2 separate regions of the Homo sapiens genome follow, and region 1 is linked to region 2. The links are contacts of gene promoters, found by promoter capture Hi-C in human tissues and cell types (Jung and others, 2019). All regions are on one chromosome and are shown on one strand. The core of a region is centred on a gene start or on the middle of the fragment in contact, and the rest is flanking DNA. Distances in the headings are between cores, read along the strand shown.

The links. The method cuts DNA at HindIII sites, captures the fragments that hold promoters and counts their contacts. A contact is called where the count stands out against the background at its distance.
Region 1: a fragment that was not itself captured here is called in contact with the fragment with the promoter of ZFAND5 in region 2 in 1 of the 25 tissues and cell types used here (dorsolateral prefrontal cortex).

The regions. Positions count from the first base shown.
Region 1 is chr9:73,073,941-73,078,973 of GRCh38, reverse strand. No RefSeq gene overlaps it. Among named protein-coding and RNA genes, the nearest start is that of ANXA1, 75 kb to the left of the region's middle. The HindIII fragment of the contact is 7,031 bases long and covers 1-5,033 here.
Region 2 is chr9:72,362,577-72,367,156 of GRCh38, reverse strand. ZFAND5 (zinc finger AN1-type containing 5) reads left to right here and starts at 1,949. Exons shown (of 7, transcript NM_001102420.3): 1 at 1,949-2,461; 2 at 3,551-3,687. RefSeq lists silencers at 1,711-2,090, 2,101-2,930 and enhancers at 1,538-2,242, 2,243-2,946. The HindIII fragment of the contact is 11,173 bases long and covers 1-4,580 here.

The DNA of each region.
Region 1 (5,033 bases), core at 1,549-4,048, 710 kb before region 2:
CGCCTCCCAAAGTTCTGAGATTGCAGGCATGAGCCACCACGCCAGGCCTGGATTGCCTTCTTATATCAAGCTTCTAGATTCCCTTATTTTTACTTTCCTACCATAATTTAAAAAATTGTTAAATTGTGTTGAGATTTTTCAATGTGCTTTACCAAAAAAGGTTTTTCTGAATATCAAATCAACCATTTTGACCCCATTTTCCATTTTCTGTCAAGTACCTCTGAGCCAGTCTTTTGCCTACATCACCACACCAACGTTAATGCTAAAAAGATAATTTTCAGAAAAAGGTGAAATCATAACCCTCATTCAGATATGAAAATGAACATGTGTTAAATAATTTTACTTACATAATATGAGGGAGCCACGGAGATGTTATAACTGATTCAAAGGAAAAGTCAAACAGCGCTAATTTATCTAGAGCACAGAATGTTGAAATTAATTGGAAATGCAGACAAAACTGATTTTTCCACATTCATTTAGATCACTACCAAACTGGACACAGAAAGTCAATTAATGTCACTAACAGACAAGTCAGAATTTGTTTATCAATTACCTACCACTTACAAAGATTTGCAAAACAGCTCAAAGACAATGAGCAGGGGTAGAATTTGATACCCTAAAAGAGTTGTCAGACTATGTTTAGTTGCCCACTGAAACACAAAATTTTTTTCATACACTGATCTTGTCAAGGCCATTAATGACTTCTACACTGAAAAATTCAGTGTCATTTCTCCATAATCATCTTGCTTCAGTTATTAACAGCTTTTGATATAGCTAATGACTCCCTTTCTTTTTGGAAAAAAAATTATTTGCTGTCCCCTTTGCTGATTTCTCTTTATTTTCATAAACTCTTCTCCACCAGTACTCCTTGTGTAGGTGACTTCATCTGATTCCAAGTATTTAAATACCAACTATATGCTTAAAAAATTCCTAAAATTATATCTTCAGTCCCAACATCTCCTGGATACACCTGACTTATACATTTTTTGGCTTACATCTACTGTCAAGTTGCCATCTTAAATTTCTGCTATCTGAAACTGGACTTTGATTTATTTTAGTCTACCCCTTTTCAACACACACTCTCTCACACACACACACACACACACATGCAAACACCCACACCCACACACACACACCTGATCTTCATATAGTTCTAGCTACTCAAGAAAAATCTGCAGAGTCATTCTGAATATCTTCAAATTGTCCCTCCAGGTTCATTCTCTTTTCTAAATCCTGATCCATGCCAGCAAACTAAACTGAATGTCATCTCTCAGTAAACATCTTGCAAGTGTGTAATAGCCTTTTACACTTGCCTTTCTACAATCTATTCTCATATGCAAACAGAGCAAACTTTTAAAATGAATATCATATCCTGCCCTTTAGACCTTCTTGCTATTCCTTGAATATACTTAGAATATTCTTGTCTCAGGGTCTTACTTGCCTGGAAGGTGTTTCCCTTAGATATCCATTTTGATTTCTCCTTCACTACAACTCCATGAATAGATGTCACCTTATCAGAGATTTTCCTGACTCTCATATGAAAGAGCATCCTTCCCCTTCTCCACTATCATTCTCTATCCCCCCTACTCTACTACACATTACTTCACAGCACTTACCACCACTTTACATAATTTATATATCTGTAGTGTATTTATATTTGTTTAAGGTTTATTTGATATCTTTCTTTGTCAGAATCTAAGTTCCATGAGAGCAAGAACTTTTGTCTGTTTTTTTCCAGTGATGTTTCTGCTGTGTATATAAACATGTCTGCATCATAGTCACCCCATATGGGTGTGGAGTGAAATAAAAGATTGAATAAATGAATTGACCAATGATGCAGAATTTATGTTATGGCACACTGAGTGATACATGGTCAGTACTACTGTTATTTGAGTCCCAATCATTTTTCAACAGGAAGAAAAGAAGTTCCCTACATATAATCACAAATATAATCAAATACTTGAAAGATGTTCATTGGTCTCAATGTGACTCAAAGCTGAAACACAAAATCAGAGTTGAGCAACGATTTCTTAAGAAGCCAATAATGAGGAAACAAATCAGCAGGATAAACAAAGATCTATATAGAAGAAACTTCACATCATTGTGGGTTCAAGTTATATTTTCTTTGAGTCAAAAAGCACAGTTATGCTATTGATAGTATAATTAGCATCTTGTTTAATTCATAAAATTGCCTTGAATAAAGTAATGATTGCCTAGTGAATTTCTAAGTTCTCCATTTGAAGAGAAATATAAATATATCAAATCCATATTATGTAAATTTGATATATAAATAAATTTGATATATTTATATTTCGCAAGCAATAGAATAAATGTTCTTCATCTTCCTTTCACACAATTACTTCATTTCATTTTTATAGTTTTGTATTTAGAGGCTCCTATACTTTTATTATATCAGTAACTATTAAAATTCAGCTCTTTAATGAAGCAATTTCAGCTTTATCCTATACATCTGTGATAACATTGAAGCAACTCTCCTATGGTCAACTCTATACCATTAAATTATTTTTCATTATATTTTCATGATAGTAATAGAGTGTATTGATCCTGGTATTTTTTCTGAAGATTACTAGCATAAGAATTATCTGGGGAAGCCAAATTCAAATTTCCACACCATCTGATTTGGTAAACAATGAAGAATAAGACCTATTTAAACCAACTTAATTTTTTTTTTTCTTTGAGATGGAGTTTTGCTCTTGTTGCCTAGGCTGGAGTGCAATGGTACGATCTCGGCTCACTGCAATCTCTGCCTTCCAGGTTCAAGTGATTCTCCTGCCTCAGCCTCCTGAGTAGCTGGTATTATAGGCACATACCGCCACACCCAGCTAATTTTTTTTTTTTTTGTAGAGATGGGGTTTCACCATGTTTGCCAGGCCAGTCTTGAACTCCTGACCTCAGGTGATCTGCCCACCTCAGCCTCCCAAAGTGCTGGGATTACAAGCATGGGCCACTCACTCTTCCTGGCCTAAACCTACGTAAATTAAATGAACATAGGGAATAATGTAAAGGATAACTGGTAATGGTTTCAAATATGGCTTATTCTAGGAGTTCAAATAATAGCTCCAGAACCTGCCATATCTCCATCCTTAGATTCTACTTTCCTTCATGTTGTGTGATTCTCAGATTCCTCATGACAGGATGTTTGCCAAAATCTCTCTTCCAGGAATAAAGATGTCTCCGTCTCTTTCCAGTAGCTCTTGAAAAGCCTTAGAATTAACTTTGTATACCTTAAGAAAATCAGTAACTTTTTCTCTGTCAATAGCAAGGTTGAAGCAAAAGAAAAAAAAGAAAGATTCATCTATAATAGGGACTAAAAGTGAAAATTCTTAGACTTAAATATAGCAAGAGTAGCATAAGATTTATATAAAAGTTAATTTATAAAATCCAAATGAAGTACATAAAATATTCCTAATGATACTACTATTATAGAAATGTCACTACTTCTAATATTATTATAGAAATGTTATGCAACTTAAATTACAATCTTAATAAGCTTTTCTGTTGAACAATATAAAGTGATTCTAGAATGTATGTGAAAAAATATATCTCTAGAAATAGTCAAGAAATTTATGAATACTGAATAATAACAAGAAGGCAAAGTAGGAGACTTCCAGATACTAAAATAACTATGGAGTAACTGTAATCAAAGGTAAGTGTATAATTTTAGCACAGGAATAGGTAAACACATTAGTCAAATATGCCTGAGCATCCATAGAAAGATTTAGTAGTTATAGGATTTTAATTGAACTTAGTGAGAATGTCTAATTTAATAAACGATGCTTGTATGTTTGATTATCCATGTAGAAGAAAAATGAATCCTTGCTCTAAGAAAAATATTGAAAGAAAATTTAGAAGTTTACTTGTGTAAATTTGAGATGGGAAAGATATTCCCAAGTATGACAGAAATCACAGAAACCATAAAGGAAAAGCTAGATATATTTGGCTCTTTTAAAGTTACATATTTCTGCAAGGCAAAAGATACCAGAAACAAAACGAAGAAACAAATTTAAAGATATTTAAAGTGTTGAAAATTAAATTAATTGTAGAATAAGTTTATTTTTCTCGGGCACTAGTTATTAAAGGATCATTACATGTGAATTCCTTCTGTAGAATTCATAGGATTATCAAACTGTATAAGCAACAGAAAGAGAAATTACAAATTTTATCAATAAAACTATTTTACAATTAGCACTCAAGCTTTTATTGTCTAGAATTATCTTTCTAATGAAATGATACTTCTAGAAAAGCATGAAAAATCACTCCAATTCTTTATTTTAAAAATAAGTAGATAAAAAGCAGAATGGTACTCATTCGAAAAGATACAGAGTAAAACAGAGCAAAAGAAACACAAAGGCAATGAAAAATAATTAATAAGAACTCAAAAATGTCCCTTTCAAACAAAAGTTGAAAGGGTCAACAGACTTGCACTTTTGACCAAGAAGGAATTTTAGAAATGTGAGTCGATAGAAAAAAACATCCTGTTTTTCAGTCCAATCATGGCAATGAAAAATAGGATTCTGGAAAACATAAAAGTGGCATGCCACAAGATAAACATAAGTCACTACTCTTAGATGACTCTTAAATTATGAACAAAATGTAGACATTGTAATAACTGAAATGTATTTTAAATGTAGGGTTTGATCTGATTAATGGAGAAAATCCCATAGCATCTCTACTGAAAGAAACTATGAAAAAGAAGTACTGGTATAACAGCTTTCTCAGGGGGCCATGGTAACTGTGAGCTAATATCATTTGTATTTGGTAGGAGGTGGGGAAGAATGGGAGATCATTAACTTTTGAAGGACTTCAGTGGATGAATGCACTCAATCTGTCCCAGATGCATGTCATTAAGAAAGAATAAACTAGCTAACATTGCCAAAATTGAGTTCACTTAAGGTATCAGGTCAGGGATGTTTTTCATGATCTGTGTCTTTAATAAGGATATGTTTTCCATCAAAGTGGCTAAAATGGGAAAGACAGAAAATATCACATGTTGAAGAAGGTGTGGAACAACC
Region 2 (4,580 bases), core at 700-3,199:
AGAAAATAGCTGCTAAAAAGGAATCTTGGTATGTTTAGGTCCAATACCTGCAACATTCTTGATTGAAACAGTCTCAGAGAAAATTATAAATGGGTGATAGAGAAGATGAATTATCAGAAGGTGACATAATATTATGGAATACACTATTCAATAATGAGCTTGCCTCATTACCCTTAGACTTTTTTTAAAGTATGCTTCTTCAGGAATTATCTTGTTTCACTCACTATAACTCCAATTCTAGAGAAAGAAAAAAATTCAAGTTAAAATTCAAGTTATTTTTGTTCTCAATAATAATCACCTCCATTGCCTCCCTGCCCTTCAGTGCCCTGGGCAAGCCTTTTTAGTCATTGTTTCTTTATCTGTAGAAAGGGACATGATAATAGTACCTATCTCAGTGAATTGCTGTGAGGATAAAATGAGACCCTAAATGGAAAATAGTTGGCACTGAAAATGGCCTGTAAATGGTAGCTGCTATTTTTTTTTTTTTTTTACTAATTCATCTGCTAATTTAAGGAAATAAATTGCAGTGGTCGTGGGACCAGTGACCCAAACTACTTAAATCTCTAATACATTAATTGATCACAGTAATAAACCCGAATTTGTTAAAAAACAAAACAAAAGGTTGTTATGCTCCAGGTACTTTGCTAACTGTGGCGGAGAACTGTTTGATTTGGCAGTGGTGGCTCAAGCTATCAGTATAGCATTCCCCCAAATACAGATTATAAATAAGGACCACCTGAAGCGCAATATGGGCCCCCCCCCACCCCCGCTCCCACCCCGGAACAACCAAAACCATATCCAGGGGAGATGCGTAGGAATCTTTAATCACCCCAGGTGATTTTTTTTCTGATTACCAACTTTGAGAAACACTGAAGGGACCTCTTCTCCATTCTATATGTGGCTAATATAAACCCTAAACATCATTTCTATGTATTCGTTAGACCGTTGTTTACTAGAAAATTTCAGAAGTCCTTTCCGACTTAGTAATTTTGTTATTTTGAGTTGAACTGAAATTCACTTGGAGCGGTCAGTTGAAAATGTTTTTTGTTTGTGCTCTGAAAAGGTTCCCAGTGTTCCGGGTAAAGTCATCCTTTCACCCATGGGGGACCTGTGCCTCGTGCCTGAACTGCCCGCCTAGTACCTCCCCCCTTGAACTTCCTCTCGCAAGCCTCCTCCTCCCGCTTCATCTGGGCCTCGGGTCTAGCTTGTTTTGTCCCTTCGCGGCTTTTGAGTAGAACATTTGGTGCTTTCCCAGTTCACGACGCTTTGCTGGAATCGTCAATTTCCAGGGATTTCACAGGCTGGCCAAAACAGTTTGTTCAGAACAGCGCCGCCGGGGCATTGGCAGCCCTGGGCGGCCGCGCGTTTCCTCACTCCGCACAACCACCCGTGACCTTGGGCGAGCGAACGCACGCCGCCAGCTGCGTCAGGGCCACGCTCGGGCTGGACTTCGGAGCTCAAAATGGGTGTGGGGAGTGAGGAGGTTTCATAAACAGAAAAGACCTCGAAGCCATAAGGCAATTCTTTTCCTTTTCTGGGGGTGAATCCTTACGATTCTTGGGGGAGGGAATGTCTGCCCAGGGCTGGAGACAAAGCGTGAGAACTAGGATGGCGAAAAACGGGTTTGAATGAGAAAATCCGAAGGAGGGAGGCTGAGGGCGGACAATTGGGTTAAAAATAGAAACGCATCCTCCACAGGACTCGCTCTTCCCAGCTCCACCCTAGGGGCCGACTGCCAGGCCAGTGGCTGGGCTCCGCGAGAAGGCACAGCAACCCGTCTCGGCCCCGCCTCCTGGACCTACTGACAGGGCACCGGGGGCGTGGCCTTGGGCCCGCGACGTCACCGCGCTCCCCGCCGCCGCCGCCGCCGCCGGGGTTTTCGCTGACGCACGGGTCCCGCCCCCTCCCCCTCTTTTCCCTCACAGCCCGGGCGCCGGGCGGCGAGTGCGTTAGTCGGCCGGGACGCGGAGCTGTGTGCATCTCCTACGCGGGCTCGCTCGCTCCCGGGAGCCGCGCAGCTTCCCCGGCGGTGGCAGGAGCGGCGAAGAGCGCCATCAGCGGGCCCTTACGGCCCCAGGCCTCGCGGCGCGCGGTCCGCTCGCCCTCCTCGTCCGCCCAACCTGCGGCCTGTGGAGGCGTGAGGCGACGACAGGCGAGCGCCTCGAGCAGCGTTAGCCGCTGCGGCCGCCGGTCCTCCCTCCACCTCCTCCTCGGCCCCCCCTCGCTTCCCTCCTCCCACTTCCCGAGCTCCGGCGTGTCCCGGCCACGCTCGACGCTGCTGCAGGAACAAAGGAAGACCCCGCGGCGGCGGCGGCGCCACCTCCGCCTGCTGCTCCGACCCGCTCCCGGCCCGCGGCGGCGGCACCAGGGCGCCCGGCTCAGCCTTCCCGGAGGCCTCGGCCCGGCCTCATCGTGCCGGCTTCGCGCGCGAACCCGGCTTTCGCATTTGGGACCCTGCAGGGTGAGTGATACGGGGCTGCGGGTGGGAGCCGGGCTCCTTGTTGCCGGGCCGGGGGCGGGAGTGAAGGGACCGGGGCGCCGCGGGCCAATGGCGAAGCCGGAGCAGGCCGCGGATGGCGGCGTCCGGGGGAGGGGAGCCCGCCCGCCAGCCCAGGAAGCACAAAGACGGAGGCGTCATCCTGTCGTCGTGGCCCGAGACCTGGCTCCCGGCGTCCCTGGCTCGCTCCACAGCACGGTCGGGAAACAATGCACGGCGTGCCGCCTCTGCGGGGCCGGCCTCTAGGCCGCTCGCCTCCGCGGCGGCGCCCGGCGTGGGCACCACGACCCAGAGAAACAAAGAGGCCGAGGCGGCGGCCGCGCCCCCTGCCCGTTGCAGCCCCCCCTAGCTCTCCCCTAAGAGGAGCCGTTCGGGGTCGGGGGTCGGGGGTCGGGGATCCGCGTGGGGCCTGCAGGCGAAGGGCTGGCCGGGCCTGCTGAGCTGCTGTTCTGCATGACTCAGTGGTTTTCGGAGAGGGCCCTGTTGGGCTTTATTGAGTGAGGCCTTTGCTTAGAGGGGGATGGGGTATCAGTGGGACCCGAACTTGTTCCAAAATCCATTGGAACATGGGGCCGGGGGTTCTCGGCGTCGTCTTTTGGGCTTCTCGACGTCGCTGCGTTTTTATCCTGAGATCCGTTTTCATGGAGGAAATGGAACACCTCCTTTGTTTGGTGCATTTAGGCTGATGAATGTGAAATTTTTTGCTCGCTTTCCACGCACTCCGTGGAGGTGTGTTTTCGGGGAAGGGTCGGATTATCTTTATTGATTGAGTGTCTCCTAAGGGATAGCATCTAAGGAGATACCAAGATAAAGGAACATATAGGTCACACATCCCCGTTCTTAAACCTGGGATTTAGATACAGACTTCTAAAAACATAAACGAATGTATTTTATTCCTTATTTTTAGGATTTTTTTTAAAGAGTAGGCTTTCAGAACTCAGTTGGTGAAAATACTGCAATTTTATCTTTGAAGTTTTTTGTTAAAATGTTTCCCCACACCCCCCTAAAAAATTAAGGATTCTTTGTAGTTGTCTCCTGTTTTCTATCTCCCAGGCCCTGAAAAGGAGCCTTTAAAAGTCAATTCTACTCCATTTGGCAAAGAGGGAACTGAAATCTGGAAAGTAAGGACTTGCCCAAGGTCACTGACTTAGTGGCAGACTAGAGACTTGAACTCAGGTCTCCATTCCCAGGTGAGTGGGAATTCATGCCATCTCATCACATCATGTGCACCTGAAAGAACTGTATTCCATAGGTGTAAAAGCTCTTTGTTCAGAATTGGAATTGGAGAATTGTTCAGTTACACTCGGGTGTTTTTTTAAGCTGTAAGTTAGAGGAAGCCATAAACTTTATAAAATCTGCATTCTAGCTATACCTGATAGAGCTGACACGTGCATGCTCAAGTTGCTAATTACTTTAAAGGCAATAAATAGTAATGGTATTTTTTTCTAAAATACAAGGGGAATGCAATACCTAATGGGAACACACATCCCCCACTTCATCCCCTAAATCCTCACTAAATGAGGATTCTTTTTTACACTGTCTCCACTGTGCTTAGTTTTTTATCAACAACCTTGACCATTTTAGCTTTGACTATGCTTTCATCTTCTAGATTGAGATTGTTCTGTAGTTTTTCCTACATTAGGAAAAAACTAGCAGCCCTTTTTTTGTTTTCTTATGTTAGATATATGAACGCTGCATCCTTAGTTCTTGGGGTTGTGTAGGAGTTGGCAGGCTTTGAGATATAAATAGAAGCTGATTTCAGAGGCCCCTGTTGACTAGGCTTTATGTGAGAGCCTCCATCCAGCTCAGCTTGTCACATTGCAGCCTTGTGACAGGCTGAAGCGCCCTCCCATGTGATCTGAGCTTCTGAGAAATATTAAAGCAAGCTGTGCACATGTGATGGCATTTAAAAGCTGGCTTTCTAGGGGAAAAAAATCTAAAAGATGGGAACCCATGTAGAAGACTCATGTCCTGGTACCTCTTGTGTGTCTCGCAGTTGAAAGTTATTTATAATGAAATGAAGGTAGACATGTTCTCTGAAGCAAAGTTGGAATACTTTGTTATCTCTGAGTGTGTGAAATCT